Regions from separate parts of the Homo sapiens genome. Here region 1 is linked to region 2. Evidence: promoter capture Hi-C in human tissues and cell types (Jung and others, 2019). All regions are on one chromosome and are shown on one strand. The core of a region is centred on a gene start or on the middle of the fragment in contact, and the rest is flanking DNA. Distances in the headings are between cores, read along the strand shown. Region 1 has its middle 180 kb from the start of GOLGA6L4. Region 2 holds the start of ADAMTSL3 (ADAMTS like 3).

Region 1 (7,557 bases), core at 3,409-5,908, 400 kb after region 2:
TGGCCTGGCAATTAGGTGCAAAATTACCTACATTTACCCTAAAGATTTCTTCAGAGCTGTCAGTCTTCCTAAAACTACCCTAGCAAATAATACTTTTTCCTTTCTGCAAATACTGTTATTCAAACCACTGTATTTACCCCATTCCAAGCTTTCCATTCTCTGTTAAGAATTTCTCAGGTGCTCATGAAGTTTTAAAGGACAAGACTCCTCACATACTACTCATAGCTCAAAACAAATTAGGTTATTTTACAATCCTTGATACAGGCCAGAAAATGAGGATTGGGTAAGTAATTATCCTAATTTGAAAAGGAGAAAACAAGTACAAAAAGAGACTGAGTGATTTTTTTTAACAATCCCCTACATTTATACTTTTACTTTAAGGATTAAAATGTACCATATAGTCTGATGCTCAAAACAAACGTTTTTGAAAACAGACATCATTTTACAAACAAAGACACTGAGTCTCAGAGATATGAGTCACTGCCTAAGGTAGTACAAATAGAAATCTATATTATTAGAACTTGAACTTAGGCTGGGTATAGTGTCTCATGCCTGTAATCCCACTGCTTTGGGAAGCCAAGGCAGGATTCAAAAGCAGCCTGGCCAATATAGCAAGAACCTATCTCTACAAAGTATATTAAAAAAATAGCTGGGTGTGGTGGCACACCCTTGTAGTCCCAGCTACTTGGGAGGCTGAGGCAGGAGGATCACTTGAGCTCAGGAGGCTGAGGCTGCAGTAAGCCATGATCATGCCACTGGACTCCAGCATGGGTGACAGTGAGACCCTGTCTCTAAAAATAATAATAATTATTAGTCAGAACTTGAACTCAAGTCCTTCGATTCCCAGCACACAGAGCCTTTCCTTGCCACACCACAATGGCTCTTACTAACTTGAACATGGTGAGGAGCAGTGCAGCAGTCTGTATACCACCAACCAAAACTTGACTCAGTGGATGCTATGTAGATGCCGTGAAGTCTGAGTAAAATGAATCCTGTTGCCTTGGAAGAGGAATCCATGTATCATTTTCAATGTTGTTCTAGATAATCCTGATGTGCTTGATAAATGACAGCTGCTATGTGAATAACCATACAATTGCCATAATTATAAACAGAATTACAAATGATAGACTGGGGACAAGCTACTAAGCAGTATGTTGAGTATTAAAATGGTACGTATGGGAATCTATATTATTCAACCTTCCAAAATGCATATTAAAGAACAATCTTGGTTAAAATATCAATACAAAATGGTTTTAAGATTCTGATTTATGATACATTTTCCAATTTTCTTGTTTAAAAATATAAAAAATGATTTATTATATCGGCCGGGTGCAGTGGCTCATGCCTGTTAACCCAGCACTTTGGGAGGCCAAGGCGGGCAGATCACGAGGTCAGGAGATTGAGACCATCCTGGCTAACACAGTGAAACCCCATCTCTACTAAAAATACAAAAAATTAGCCGTGTGTGGTGGCGGGCACCTGTAGTCCCAGCTACTCGGGAGGCTGAGGCAGAAGAATGGCATGAACCCAGGAGGCGGAGCTTGCAGTGAGCTGAGATTGCACCACTGCACTCCAGCCTGGGCAACAGAGCGAGACTCCCTCTCAAAAACAAACAAACAAAAAAGATTTATTATATCATAAATTTTTTTCACTACAAAAATTGAGTTTTCTCTTGGAAAACCAACAACTTATTAGTAGCTTCCTTTTAAGCACAATTTGGTTATTAGAAGGCCTTCACTGCGGGAGTAATCTTGCAGAAGAATTTATGACCTTGGGAATTTGTATTTTCAAAAATATAACCTGGAGGAGAGGGATAGCTAGCTGGGCAAATTTCCTGTTTTTTCGGTGTGTACTCTACAGAGTACATGGTTACATCATCAAATGGAACAGAACTCTTAAAAGCAATATTTAAAGGTTTGCAACTCTCTGTTGGAATCAATTCATGTTGCAAATAGTGAGATCTGAAAGTGCTCAAACCATCAAATTTTCCAGATGGGTTGGGAATCTGCTGCTGCTTCTTAATAAGTCCTTGACGACAACTTTCCCATGCTGGAAAATCTTTCATGGTGCTTTTTCCTTGGAAAGGAAAACTGTTACTTCTTCTACGAGAAACTGGCCTGATGGGAACAACACGGTTGGCCTGATACGGAACATAGTCAAGATGGCTTGTGCTGTTTAACAGCATGCTACCTGTAGGAGGCACATACTCTGGTACTTTCTTGACCTCCGGTCGTGGGATTTCCCATGGTTGAAAACTTTCACGGAATTCAGTGCTTCCTTCAAACCGAGCATTCTGGGTCACTCTGGTGTGTACAGGTCTGCAGAGTTTTGCAGTTTCACCAAATAAGACCCCAAAAGTCATACCGGTGAGTTGTGAAATCCTCAAAGCGTTGGTCAGTTGGTTTGTAAACTTCTTTTGGCCTTTCAAACTTGAGTTCAAGCTGATGAGGTATATAATCAAGGCGATTACTTGTAATACCATTAAAAGGGGCTGTAGAACGTTTGACCACAGAGAAGGGTTTAAAGCTTTGCCTAGGCTTTATCTCCTGAGGAACAAAGTCATCCTGGAATGTAGTTGAATTTCCAAATTTCACAGTAGGGGGGTGGTAAGTTCGTTCTGGCTTATAAAGTTCACTTTTACGAAGGTCCCAAGCTTTATAATCGTCTTCAAAATTATATCAAAGCAAAAACAGTTTTAAATGCTGAAGAAAACAACCATCTTCTAAAAATCATAACTGACTTCTCTCATTGCCAAACATCTTTCCATTTCCTTTAGAAATCTAAACAATAGTATCAGAATACAGTTTCTCTGATTCCTTTCAGATTTGTTCTTTTTCTTCATTTCCACCTTCCTCTACCCATCTCCTCACTTTAATACATGTAACTTTCCACTTTCAGATTCATCTGATTACATAACAAAGGAAAAGCACATCTGAGCCTGATTGTGGATAGTTCTTGAAAGCCAAAAGGACTGTGTTGGAGGTGAGGACAGAGTTTAGGAGATTATGGTTGTATTCCTAGGAAGAGGTTGGGATTTTAATTACAACTCACAAAATGCTAAGGTACGTCTAAAAGCCAGGGCTTGAAATAAAATCAAGTGCCCTTCATGGGTGGGCAAAAGTAATACAGGTATTACTCCTTGCTTTGGAGAGACTCTTCAAAGGGGAGAAAAATTTAATTCTGGTATCCTCTAGGAAGCCTACAGAAAGAATTCCTTGAGCAAAGATACAGGGTAACTTGTGCTATCCCAGAAAGATCACTGGCTTCAACTTTCCCTCATGAAATGGACTTTAAGGCATTCCCAAAAGATAGAGGGCCATCTAGAGGCCAGAGGCCTTAACTGAATGTCTTCAGAGGTGTTTGAAATTGTAGAATTTCAAGTGACCATCAGAGCAGAGATCTGGGGTTTGGAAGTTAAATAACCTTAAGCTTACTTCCTGTAGTTTACCTAGACTGTGGAGCATTTTGGGTCACGCTAGTGTATACAGAATGATGACTTGTAACACCATTACAAGTTGGTAATGGTACACTTCACTAAAACTAAAATGTTTATATTTCAACTAAGGATTATTTGTGTTTTCTATTTCTCCATGAGGAAGATAGTAAGCTAGGAAATATCATAGAATAGACTTCACGCCAAAATATATATTTCTAAATACCAAAAGTTAATTTATAAAAGGTAGAAATTTATTACACAAGATAACGTACTAAAATCTGGACTAAAGTCTATGCAATATTTACAGGAAAGGCCAAACTTTGAAAACTTATTATGTGGATATCTTCTTTGAAGAGAAAAAATGCTTAGCCATTTTTGCCAAAATGGCCAAGTTTTGGACTAAATGATTAAGTTACTGATGTCTGGATGAGAGACTGCACCTGACTCAAGAATAGGCGACCTTTAGGCTAGCAGAGACCTTTAAGACAAACTGACAGAAAAGATGAGCTAGATCAAGCATTCTTATTCTTGTAAACCTAAAATTGAAAATAATGAGTGAGATAGAAATGGGAGAATTGAAAAGGATGCCAGGAAGTAGAGCTGAAGAACTATGGAAAGCTGAAGTTACATTCAAAACAGACCTTTAAAGAAACAGAAATGATAACTAGGCAGAGGTGGCCAGTTAGTAAAGCAGCAATCAGAGCAGATGAGTGAAGGGAAGTGAAGATGCTGTGAGAGAAATCATGTAGCTCATTGCGGAGATGAAGGGAAAAGCTCTTCCTTCAAGCTCCCTGGGCACCTGATAGCTTTCCATTTTCAGTTCACATGAAGCTTTACCAGAGCCTTTTTTTCTTGAGGTATCATGAGGGAATCTCTCTTCTTTGCAGACTAAAGTATAAAAGTATAACACTATTTTTCACTAACTAAAAGGAATCAGAGATGTTATCGAAGGTTTATAGTTCCACACAATCATATAGGGAGAATTCTTGCTACCACACAAGAGAAAAAAGATTTTCATTATAAGAGAGTAAACAGAAGAGAATATTTCTCCCTCACCAAACCAGCTTTGGTTTTCAAAATGGAAGCAAGAATTTGGACACTGAGAGATGGATGTGATAGCATACAATAGTATGAATGTAAGTTCTACATAATTGCAGAAAATTGATTTTCTCCCTATAAATATGCCTATGCTCATATGCCTGGAATATTTATTATCTGTTATGGAATATTTGATAACATTCTAGCAGCATCTTTAAAACATCATAATCTTTATCATCTGTTTTTAGTGTTTTATGATACTTATGGAAAAAACAAACAAGAAAACAAACAATGCTGTCCACGTCTAAAAATACAGTTTGGTTATGTGGCAGCTCCACTATTGCCCTTGTTAGATGTTTCCTCAGCTCACTTTTTATGTCTAGCCACTAAAATCTGGATAGAAAGTTTATTCTCTTCTGAACAGGTTTAAGTCCAAGAAGTGTCTGAATGCACTTGCCCACTATTTGTATACACAGCTCCAACCCCATTTTAATATAGTGAGCTGTTCTAGGTTCTTCTTTGAGGACAAAAGTCTTGAGTTGCTTATGCTAGCTCTTTTTCCTGGTACTTGGGACTGCTCCCTGTGGTGTCTTGTGGTACCAAGGAATTGGAAACTACTTTTAGAAAGTCAGGGGACATCATCCTTGGCCTCAGCTTTTTCAATCTACATATCACCAATCTACTCCCATGGTTTTAATACTACCTGTAAGGTGGTGACTCCCAAACTTGAATCTCTACTTCAGACCTCCCTTCAAACACCAACCCACATATTTATCCACCTACTAGACATCTTTATTTGGATGTCCCTCAGATAAATGAAAACTTAGCATGCCCCAATTAATTATCTCACTCAGACTCACGTTCCCCAGAAAATAACATACCTACAAAGTTTCTGTTGTGAATTTGGCAAGTCAGGCTAAGGTTCCGTTTAATTGACTTTTTCTCCCTCATTTCCTTCTCTCCTTTTCAAGTAGTTTTCAAATACTGTTGATATTACCTTCTAAATATTAATGTCTTCCTTCTTGAAGCAAACATGGAATGAATGGCAACCTGATAAAATTGTCAAAAATAAGAAAAAGAAAAAAGAAGAGGCCACAATGTAAAATAAACGTCTATAAGGTCTGTAGTGCTATTCTCTTTCATTCTTGATATTTGTAATTGGTGTCTTCTCTCTTTTGGTTTATCAACTTTATTATCTTTTAATAGAACCAATTTTTGGTTTCATTGTTTTTCTGTTTTCAAATTTATTGATTGCTGCTGTTATCCTCATTTATTTCCTTCTACTTTGCTTTGGATTTAATTTGCTCTTATTTTTCTAGTTTCATACAATGAAGGTTTAGACTGTTGATTTAAGACTTTCTTTTCTAATATGAACCTTAAATGCTATAAATTTTCCTCAAAGTATTGCTTTAGATGCATCTCTCAGATTTTGGTATACTATATTTTCATTAAATTCAAAATACTTTCTAATTTCTTTTACTTTTGCTTAAAACCATTCGTTATTTAGAAATTTGCTGTGTAATTTCCAAATATTGGGGGATTTTCCCACTTTTTTTCTATTATTGATGTTTAATTCAATTCTGTTATGATCAAAACCACACATTGCATGCTTTCAATTCTTTTATATTTGTTAAGGTTTGTTTTATGGCTCCGAATATAGTTTATCTGAATGAACATTTCATGTGCACTTGAAAAGAATGTGTATTCTGTTATTGTTGACAGAAGTGCTTTGCAAATGTCAATTTGGACAACTGTTGATAGTGTTTTTCAGGTCTTTATATCCTTATTCATTTCCTGTCTATATTCTATAGATTACTTAAAGAGAGTGTTGAAGTCTCCAACTACAAATGCATGTTTTTACATTTCTTATGTTAGTACTATAAGTTTATGTTTTGTGTATTTGAAGCTCAAGTGTTAAGGGCATACACATTTAGAATTTTGTGTTTGGGAAATGGAGGGTGAGTGTGTGGTGGTTTCTCTGTTGTCCTGGTTCAGCTTCAGTCTTAGGCAGTCCCTGTGCCCCCGGGCCTCAGAAGCAGGGCTCTCTCAGTGCACCTGCTCCTTCACTTGATGTAGTAGGTCTCTAATTGTTGGTCCCGAGACAGTTTCCTGTTCTTTCTTCATGTTCAAGGTTTGGTTTTATTTTGCTTCTTGTTGTTGTTTTTCCTTTATCTTTCCTCAAGGTACAATACATCTTCAGCTATTCATTGGGGTTGTCAGAGTGATGTCTCTCCCGCAGTGGATTAATGCTTTTGTTCTGTAGGTTAGAGTCATTCAAATGGAGCTTCCTGCTATTTTTTTCTTTCGCAACAACAACCATTCTTCTCTCCATGCCCGCACTACAAAGGAAACTTTCTGTGGCCTCCAGCCTTTCTCCCAATCTTTCTGATGATCACAGAGTGAACATCCATAGGGAAGAGTCTATGAGTGGTTTTGAACTCCCCCTTTAGTGTCTGAAGTTCTCAGAGCTTCTATACTCTCACAGTAGTTCACACTCAAGTCTTTAGCAACTAAAGATGTAAATGAATTATTTTATCCACTTTTGTAACAGCTAGTCTTCATTCCATGCCCTGCTTTGGGTGAAACAGTGCTTGCCTCCTGTCTCAACTGGGTGGAAGTTGTTTTTCCTTAATGTCAGGCTAATTGGTTAACCTGTGATCTCAGGTTTCTAAAGGATTCATACACATTTATGATTTTGTAGATTATCTGGCTTTTTCTTATTGTTATGTTGGGGACATAATCTTTCTGACTTCCTGCATCCTACACAGAATCTGAAAATTCTGGAATTCTTTATGGTGAGGTTTAAAATTACACCTTCAATTCTACAAATTCAATTTCCTTTACAGATATAGGGCTATTTTGAATTTTTATTTCTTCTTGGGTTACTTTTGGTAAATTGCATTTTTCAAAAAATTTATCCATTTTATGTAAGTTGTAAATTATTGGCATATTTTTAAAAATAATATCTTTTTAATGTGTGAAAAATCACTCTTTGAGTTTTAATCAAAATATTTTGTTCATTTACACTTAATGTAATGATCTAGCTGGGCTTAAGTTGACTGTATTGCTATTTGCTTTTGATT
Region 2 (7,307 bases), core at 2,642-5,141:
GCTGGGAGCAGGCAAAGCTGGGAGCGCGGGCAGGAATCTCTGAAATTCATCTAGGAAGAAGCAGGTCCTGAGACAGGTAGTGAAAGCCAGGAAGCCAAGAAGTTGGATCTTAGGGAGGAAATGGAACTCAGTTTCCTCGACCCTTCAGAGTCTAAATGCATTGCCATTGTCCCCAGGTGGTGGGTGTTCTCACAGGGAGGAAGTCCAGGAAGTAGGCAGGGAGGGGCCTGAACCTCCCCAGATAGTGATTGGGTAGGTGGCTACACTCAACAGCCAAATCAGCCAGATTAGCTGCTTTGGGGTTTATTCATTCCTGTTCTTCCCAATTCCTGATCTCCCACCACACCATGCCTTTGGCAATGTCTTATTTAAACATTTGGGCCAAGCCTCAGGTGAGGAAGTAAGGATGGGAGGGAAGTGTGGGTGAGTGACTGAGGGAAGGGGTGAGGGAAGAGGTGACTGAGGGGTGGTGAGGCCATGATTCTGCGCATAACATCTGTGAAGTCCAGCCAGCACCCCCAGTGGAGGCTGTCCTCTGCAGCTCTTTGTTGTCCTAACTTACAGTACCTTGGCCACTCACACAGGTTTGCTTGACCTGCTAGGGTTAACTGGAAGGCAAAAGTTCTATAAAGGTATTGGTGATGTTTTCTCTACTACTTTTCGCTACTGGAACACCTGCTCTTTGAGGGGGCTGGCCTCCTGCTAGATGGAACCTGTGGGAGAGAAAGGCTCAGTCCTGGTCTTAGTACTTGGTGTGGGGCACTCCTTGGAGGCTGGCTCAGGAGTCAGATTGCCCAAGGGAGATGAGACAGGAAGTCCTGCTGAGCCATTAATACCTTAAAACAGAGCAGTGCATCTCAAATGTTCCCAGCAAAGTCCCCCAACTCCAGAGGCATTCTCAGTGACTTCTTGAGTTGCAGACACCGGGAGCTCTGCTTAATGCAGCCACCACTGCACAAGCATAATATTTCTTTGAATTCTCCATTTCATCTTGCATATTCATGTGACTTTTTTGCATTTGACTCCATGATATGGTGGGGCTAGTTTTAGAATATGAACGATGAGGAGTGGTATCGTCTAGTTGCTAAGAACATGAGGTATTTAAACCTTTCCACTTCAGTTTCCTCATTTGCAAAATGGGAATAAAAATAATATCTACCCCATAGGCTGTTGTGATGATGGGATGACTCGGTATAAGCAAAGTATCTGGAACAGTGCCTGCCACATCCTAAGTGTTTTGAATGTTAATGTGGCTATTCCTTTACTGATACTCTGATATGAGAAGCACGAAAAATCAATTCTCATTATTTGCAGATTCCTTATTGTGAATTCAGCTACTGGGTAAAATTTATTTGTCACCTCCGTTAAATTAAGTTTAGCCTAAAGTTGCCTTCTTACATATTTTAAGTTCGGCCTAAAGGTCTCTCTGTACATAGTAAACTGTAACCTGATGATGTGTAAACAGACTGTAACCTACTCTTGAAGCAGTCACAGAGTTTTGGCCAATCACAGGCGGTCAACTGTTTAAACCATGTTTAAATAAGGCAAATGCCGAGCTGTAACCAATCCAGCTGTTTCTGTACCTCATTTCCGTTTTCTGTTCATCATATTCCGTTTTCTATCCATAAATATTATCTGACTATGTGGAAGCCCCAGAGTTGCTCTGAATCTATTTTGTTTTGGGGCTGAGGGGGGCTGCCCTATTTTCAAATTGTTCTTTGCTCAATTAACCTCTGTTAAATTTGTCTAAAGTTTTTATTTTAACACCTCATAATCAATAGCTGCAGCACTTTCAAAGTCATTGAACCAGTGCTGAACGTTTTGAGTCTCTTGAGACACATGTTGGAAGCTAAGGTCCAACCAGTCAACCCTCTGTCTTCTTGTTTCAGCTTTCACACTGTAAATGAGTGGCCCAAAAGTTCTCTTCATTGCCATGTTTTCACATTTTTTTGGTCTTTTTTTTGATGATTTTGCTGCTTAAAGCACCCCCCAGGCACAGTGCTGAAGTGAAGTCTAGCGTTCCTAAGTGGAAGAAGGCTGGGATGTGTGTTGCAGAGAAAATACGTAAGTTAGATAAGCTTCATTCAGGCATGAGTTACAGCACTGTAGGCTGTGAGCTCAGTGTTCAGGAATCAACAATAGATGTTAAGTAAGGCGTCTTTAAACAGAAACATGCATAAAATAAGGCAATGTGTTGATTGATTGACAAAAATATTGTGAGCTTGCAGGAACCCAACTCTATATTTCCCCTAGGAACAATGGCTCCATATTCACAAATTCGTTGTTCTGTGACTTTATAGACCACAACTACAGTAAATAAAAAGGATCGATTGTCCATAGATGAGTTAGTTCTAGTTTAGCCCAGCCCTCCCTACCCTTCACTGGCTACTCTTACCTCTCCTGTCTCCACACTGACCTGTCCTCTGCTCACTTGCCACAAGTCCAATCATTTTACATAGAGTGGAGAGACAGCCTTGAAGATCCTCTTCTTGGTCAGAGGAAGTCACCAGAGTAAGTAAGGGAAGAATGAGTGAGGAAAGCAGGCAGGGCCAATTGCTCTTGGCAAAGCTCTAGCAGTAACCGGAACGCAGCAACCACAGAGAAGGCAGGAGAACAACTTTAGGGGTGAACAGTCCAGGCTCTAGAGAGAGGCAGATAGGGGTTCCAGTCCTGGCTTCTCCACTCATGGTGGGCAAGTTATCCTCCCAGCCTCAGATTTATCCTAGGTGAAATGGGATAATGCTCGAACTACTGCTGCTGTGAAGATCAGATAGACACAAAGAGCTTGGTACTCGACAGACACCCAAGGAAATGGCGACTGTGGTAGGACTTAGGTGGGGGCATAATGCAGCCTTTAAGATCAATCTCCTGGCCCTTGGCTTATCCTGCTGGGACTAGGACAAGGACAGGGACAAACATTTCCTTTTACTTCTCCTCACCTCCAGAAGTACACAGGCAACTCACCCCAGTCTCTTGTCCGCGACACTCTTCCCCCCAACCCCAAATCCCAGGCCTGGACACGGCATGATTCTGGCACCTGTGGAGCTCTCAGTTCCCCAAGCCCGGCTCAGACAAGGAGGCGCCAGGTACCCAGTTAAGAGGCGCTCCTGCAAGATCCTCGTGGTCCCTGGCTGCCAAAGGTCCCAGGCCTCTGGGCAGTGAGCGCTCCACAGTCCCTTGTGTGGCGTCTATGCTGCGCGGAGGAGGCGCAGGCCAGGAGAGGGCCATTGGTCTCCACTATGGTCCTGCCTGGCCAGGAGTGCCTATGGCTCTTAGGCACGAGCCAGCGGTTCCGGGCAAACCTCTGTGTGGCTGCTGGGCCTGACTTTGCAGAGCTGGCGCCCGGGTCTGGGCGGGGTGGGTGGAGGCTATGGGAGGTGGGGCCGGGGGTGGGCTCGGGGGGAGCGACGGCATCCCTGCTCCGGCTCCGGCTGAGGCGGGGCGGCCAGGCTGGCTTGCGGCGCAGCGGCCGCCTTTCCCCAGTGCGCCTGCCGGCGGCGGCGGTGGCGGCGTCGGCAATCCCGGCTCTTGGCACAACGCCTGGCGGCCGGCCCAGGGCGAGGAGTGGCTTCCAGGAAGCGGGCGGAGGAGCGTTCCAGCCGAGTCCCGCCGTCGCCGCGGCCCCGCGCGCTCCGAGCGGCCCGGGCCTGGCCCCACACGGCGTCTCTTCGCGCCCCCGGCGCCTCCAGCTCAAGCCGAGGGCGCGGTGCCGGCGCGCAGGCTGACGGGCGCCTGGGCGCGCCGTGCACTTGCCGGGCGGTGCAGGTGGCGGCGCGCGCCCTCCGCCTCTGGGCCGGGGCCAGCGCAGCGCTCTGCGCGCCCGGAGGGGGCGGGAGAGGCGGGGCAGCCCCCGTCCCAGCCCCATTTAACTTCGCGGCGGCGGCGGCGACTGCGGCGCCGCGGGCTGGAGGCCGGCGTCGGGGAAGGTCCTGGTGCCGGATTCCGCACGAGGTGTTGACGGGCGGCTTCTGCCAACTTCTCCCCAGCGCGCGCCGAGCCCGCGCGGCCCCGGGGCTGCACGTCCCAGATACTTCTGCGGCGCAAGGTGGGTGCACCGAGCTCGGCGCAGGGCGGCCCCTCAGGGGTCGGGGGAAGGCGCTCCCCAGAGGGAGTAAGACTTGGAGCAGTGGCCTCTCTAAGCAAGTTGGGGGTCTCCAAGCAGAGTCGGGGCGTGCCACGCGGGCCCCAGGGGGCCTCAGGACTGGGGTGCTCCTCACTGCTGGGCACCTCGGGTCGGGCGCGCTTCGTGCCGTCCCGGAAGGTTCAGGGAGAGTCTTTCGGCGGCAGTTCGCGGGCTGAGGGGCGTTCTTGATTATGGGGGAACTCCACAGGGTTGGAGTTTTTCAGGATTGGGAGTTACTAAGCAGAAACCTCGCGGGTCCGAAGGTCCGGCCGGTTGACCACTGGGTAGCGAGCGCCCAGAACGCCGGGGGTTGAGGCGACGCGCGATCGTGGAAAGTGGGCGTGGGGGTGACCGGGACGCGGCGGAGGCACTGGAGGAGCGACTTCGAGGCAGCGGGTAGTCGGAGGAGTGTGCACTCGGAAGGCTGGTGCGAGCAGGCGAGGGTGGCGCAGAGTCCCAGGGCCCCGCACTGGCCGCCTCCCTTCAGCCAGGAGTCGCCGCCTCAGGTCGGAAACAGCAGCACATTTGCGGATCACATTAGACCAGGCCCTTAATGCCTTCTCCAGATGGAGAGAAGCCACCGACCCGCCCCCGGACACCAGCTCCGCCAAGGCGCCCGCGAGGCGAAGCGGGAGTCGAGTGTGACCTCGGCTTTTCCAGTCTCGACTCATACTGATTTCCCTGTAAATTGACAGGAAAAGTAAGGGAAAAAGTCCCCGCTTCCCTCCTGGTTTCAGCTGACCTCTGCTGGCTGGCCCTCACCTACTTTTAGGAGATTGTGTTAGGCTGGCTCAGGGGCTGTGTCCTCCAAACCTCCCTGAACTTAGCTCTCAGGCGTCTCTCTGGGTGTGGGTCCCGGACCTCGAGGGCGCACGGTGTCATCTAGCGAGGAAAGCCTTGAACTATCAGAAGATCTGCGTTTCAGCCCTAAAATGTCACTATCTTGCTGTGTGACCTTAGGCAGGTCCTTTCCCTCTCTGGGCGGCTTTGTTGTCTTAGACTCATTTTTGCCGCGAGCAGCAGAAGCTAGCCTAAACCTTGGCTCTGTGCTGGCTTCCTGAGTCAAATGCCAATAGCGACACCCTGCTGCTGACAGATAGGCTTGGGCAGGGATATCTCAGCTTCTGAAGAGCTGGAGGTATGAGATGCCCACTGGAGACAGGTCCAGCCCTCGCCTGACTTTGTTGTGGACCTTCTAAAGGGAGCCCAGTTAGCCTGCACCCTGCAGTAGGCAGCGGCAACCTGGGCCAACACAAACCTTTCCAAAATAGTATATGGGCTTCAGGGTCCCTCCATCTAATGGGTCGCTTAAGTCACGGTTTACTGCCATGGGGGCCAGAGCTGGTTGGTAATGAACTCTTTCCTCGTTTGTAGGCTACAACTGAGACCCGGAGGAGACTAGACCCCATGGCTTCCTGGACGAGCCCCTGGTGGGTGCTGATAGGGATGGTCTTCATGCACTCTCCCCTCCCGCAGGTAAGGTCATATAGGGAGGGGAAGGGAAATGGTGGACATCCCTCTGTTTACTCAGAGGCATTATTGTATACCACCTAAGATGTGGCATGATTAGTGTTAATCCTACACCAGAGAACCAGACTTTCTTTCCTATCTCTAGCCAATGGTATTTCTGGTTGGCTTAGCTGTAAGGATTATCCAGATCCCTTGGGTCCTCTCTGAATCCTGAGTAGGGCTTTAATAGCACTGTGGATACCATACACCGGTGATGACCTGGGGCTGTGATGGACCCTGTCATTTCAGACTAGAATGGCTGTCTGCATGTGCCCAGCAGAGGCTGGGTTGCTGGAGACCAGGAAACAATGGGCAGAGCCAGGTTCTGGCCCTAGCTAAGCTGCTAAATAAATATTCTGAGTTTACATCTATCATCACATATCCCACTGTTTTATCCCACAGTCCTCTCTTTAGACTTCTGCTGTCTTTTCCAACCAACTTGAGAGGACCCGGCTCATGAATTGCATCTTTATTTGCCTAAAGGACAGACTCAAACAAAGGAATGAGGCTAGCATTGCCTAAGAGACAATAGAGAGTAACGGAGACAGTGGCAAAGTGCAGAACGCGTGCTCCATCTATTAAGAGCAGTCTCTACTCAATTCCATCTGATCGTTGCTAAGTGGAGACATAAGCCCAGGATTGCCAGATCTTATTTTTCAAGATAGCTGGATCATCTAGACTTCTTACAAAATTTCCCAGTTTTTAAAGTATTGAAAGGCAGATAAATGTGTTTGCAGCCTGGATTCAGCCAAGCAGTTTGCAGCCCCAGATCTAAAGGCAGGGCACATCTTAGTATTGTGTCCCAAGGGCTGCTGCTAGCTCCATACAGTGTCTTATGAATTAGAACAAGGCAATCCCTCCCTGCAGACATAGCTTCTCAAATACATGGCTTGGTGGCCTGTGTACCCTCAGGGTCTCGGAAGGGACTTGTCACTTAAGGGCTTAAATGTCTGTTAAATAAACATGCATCCATGAATGAAGATATATACCCTGGGATAAATTAATCAGACTCCTCTGCCTCTTGTTTCACTTTCTTGGACTTAGTGCCTCTAAAGCCTCTTTTGGCTCCAATGCCCTGTGAATTCTGTGATGCACAAAGAACTGGTCAGCAAGGTACATCTTCTCCCCACTATCCCATTTTATCGATACTATCCCATAATCATATTAATAGAGCTCTTTTGTTAGAACAAAAGTTAAGTCTTTTCAGGATGATGTTAGGGTTCTCTGGCCAGCGAGATGACTGTTGAGGTAAAAGCGTGGAGACTTACGTTTCTGTCTCATCAGCGGATCTGAAACAGGCTTTGAGAGCTTCAGAGATTTGTTCCTGGTCAAATGGGGCTGAGGCTTCAAGGCACAGTGTTCATTTTGCCTTCTTTCACCTTATAAAATTTAAATATGCTTTGAGGCAGTCTGTTGACCTTTGGCCAAGGGCAGTGTTTGCCCAGCTTGAATCACTCACTGACCTCTTTTGGATTTTTCCATATCTGTGTGCCTGTGGCAGTGCTGTTTCCATGTATCCAGGCAGTGTGCATAGAAGGTCATAAAAGGAGATTTCAGACCAGCAGTCTTCATCATTCACGCCACTCACTGTTCGGATCCCAGCTCTACCACTTCATTACTGTGTCACGCAAACGTCTCTGCATCGCATCTCAGTTTTCACATCTATACAGAGGAG

The links. The method cuts DNA at HindIII sites, captures the fragments that hold promoters and counts their contacts. A contact is called where the count stands out against the background at its distance.
Region 1: a fragment that was not itself captured here is called in contact with the fragment with the promoter of ADAMTSL3 in region 2 in 1 of the 25 tissues and cell types used here (mesendoderm cells).

The regions. Positions count from the first base shown.
Region 1 is chr15:84,051,391-84,058,947 of GRCh38, forward strand. It overlaps the pseudogene LOC642677. Among named protein-coding and RNA genes, the nearest start is that of GOLGA6L4, 180 kb to the right of the region's middle. The HindIII fragment of the contact is 6,643 bases long and covers 1,338-7,557 here.
Region 2 is chr15:83,650,232-83,657,538 of GRCh38, forward strand. ADAMTSL3 (ADAMTS like 3) reads left to right here and starts at 3,892. Exons shown (of 30, transcript NM_207517.3): 1 at 3,892-4,045; 2 at 5,498-5,599. The coding sequence starts at 5,531. RefSeq lists an enhancer at 2,361-2,530. The HindIII fragment of the contact is 6,298 bases long and covers 1-4,769 here.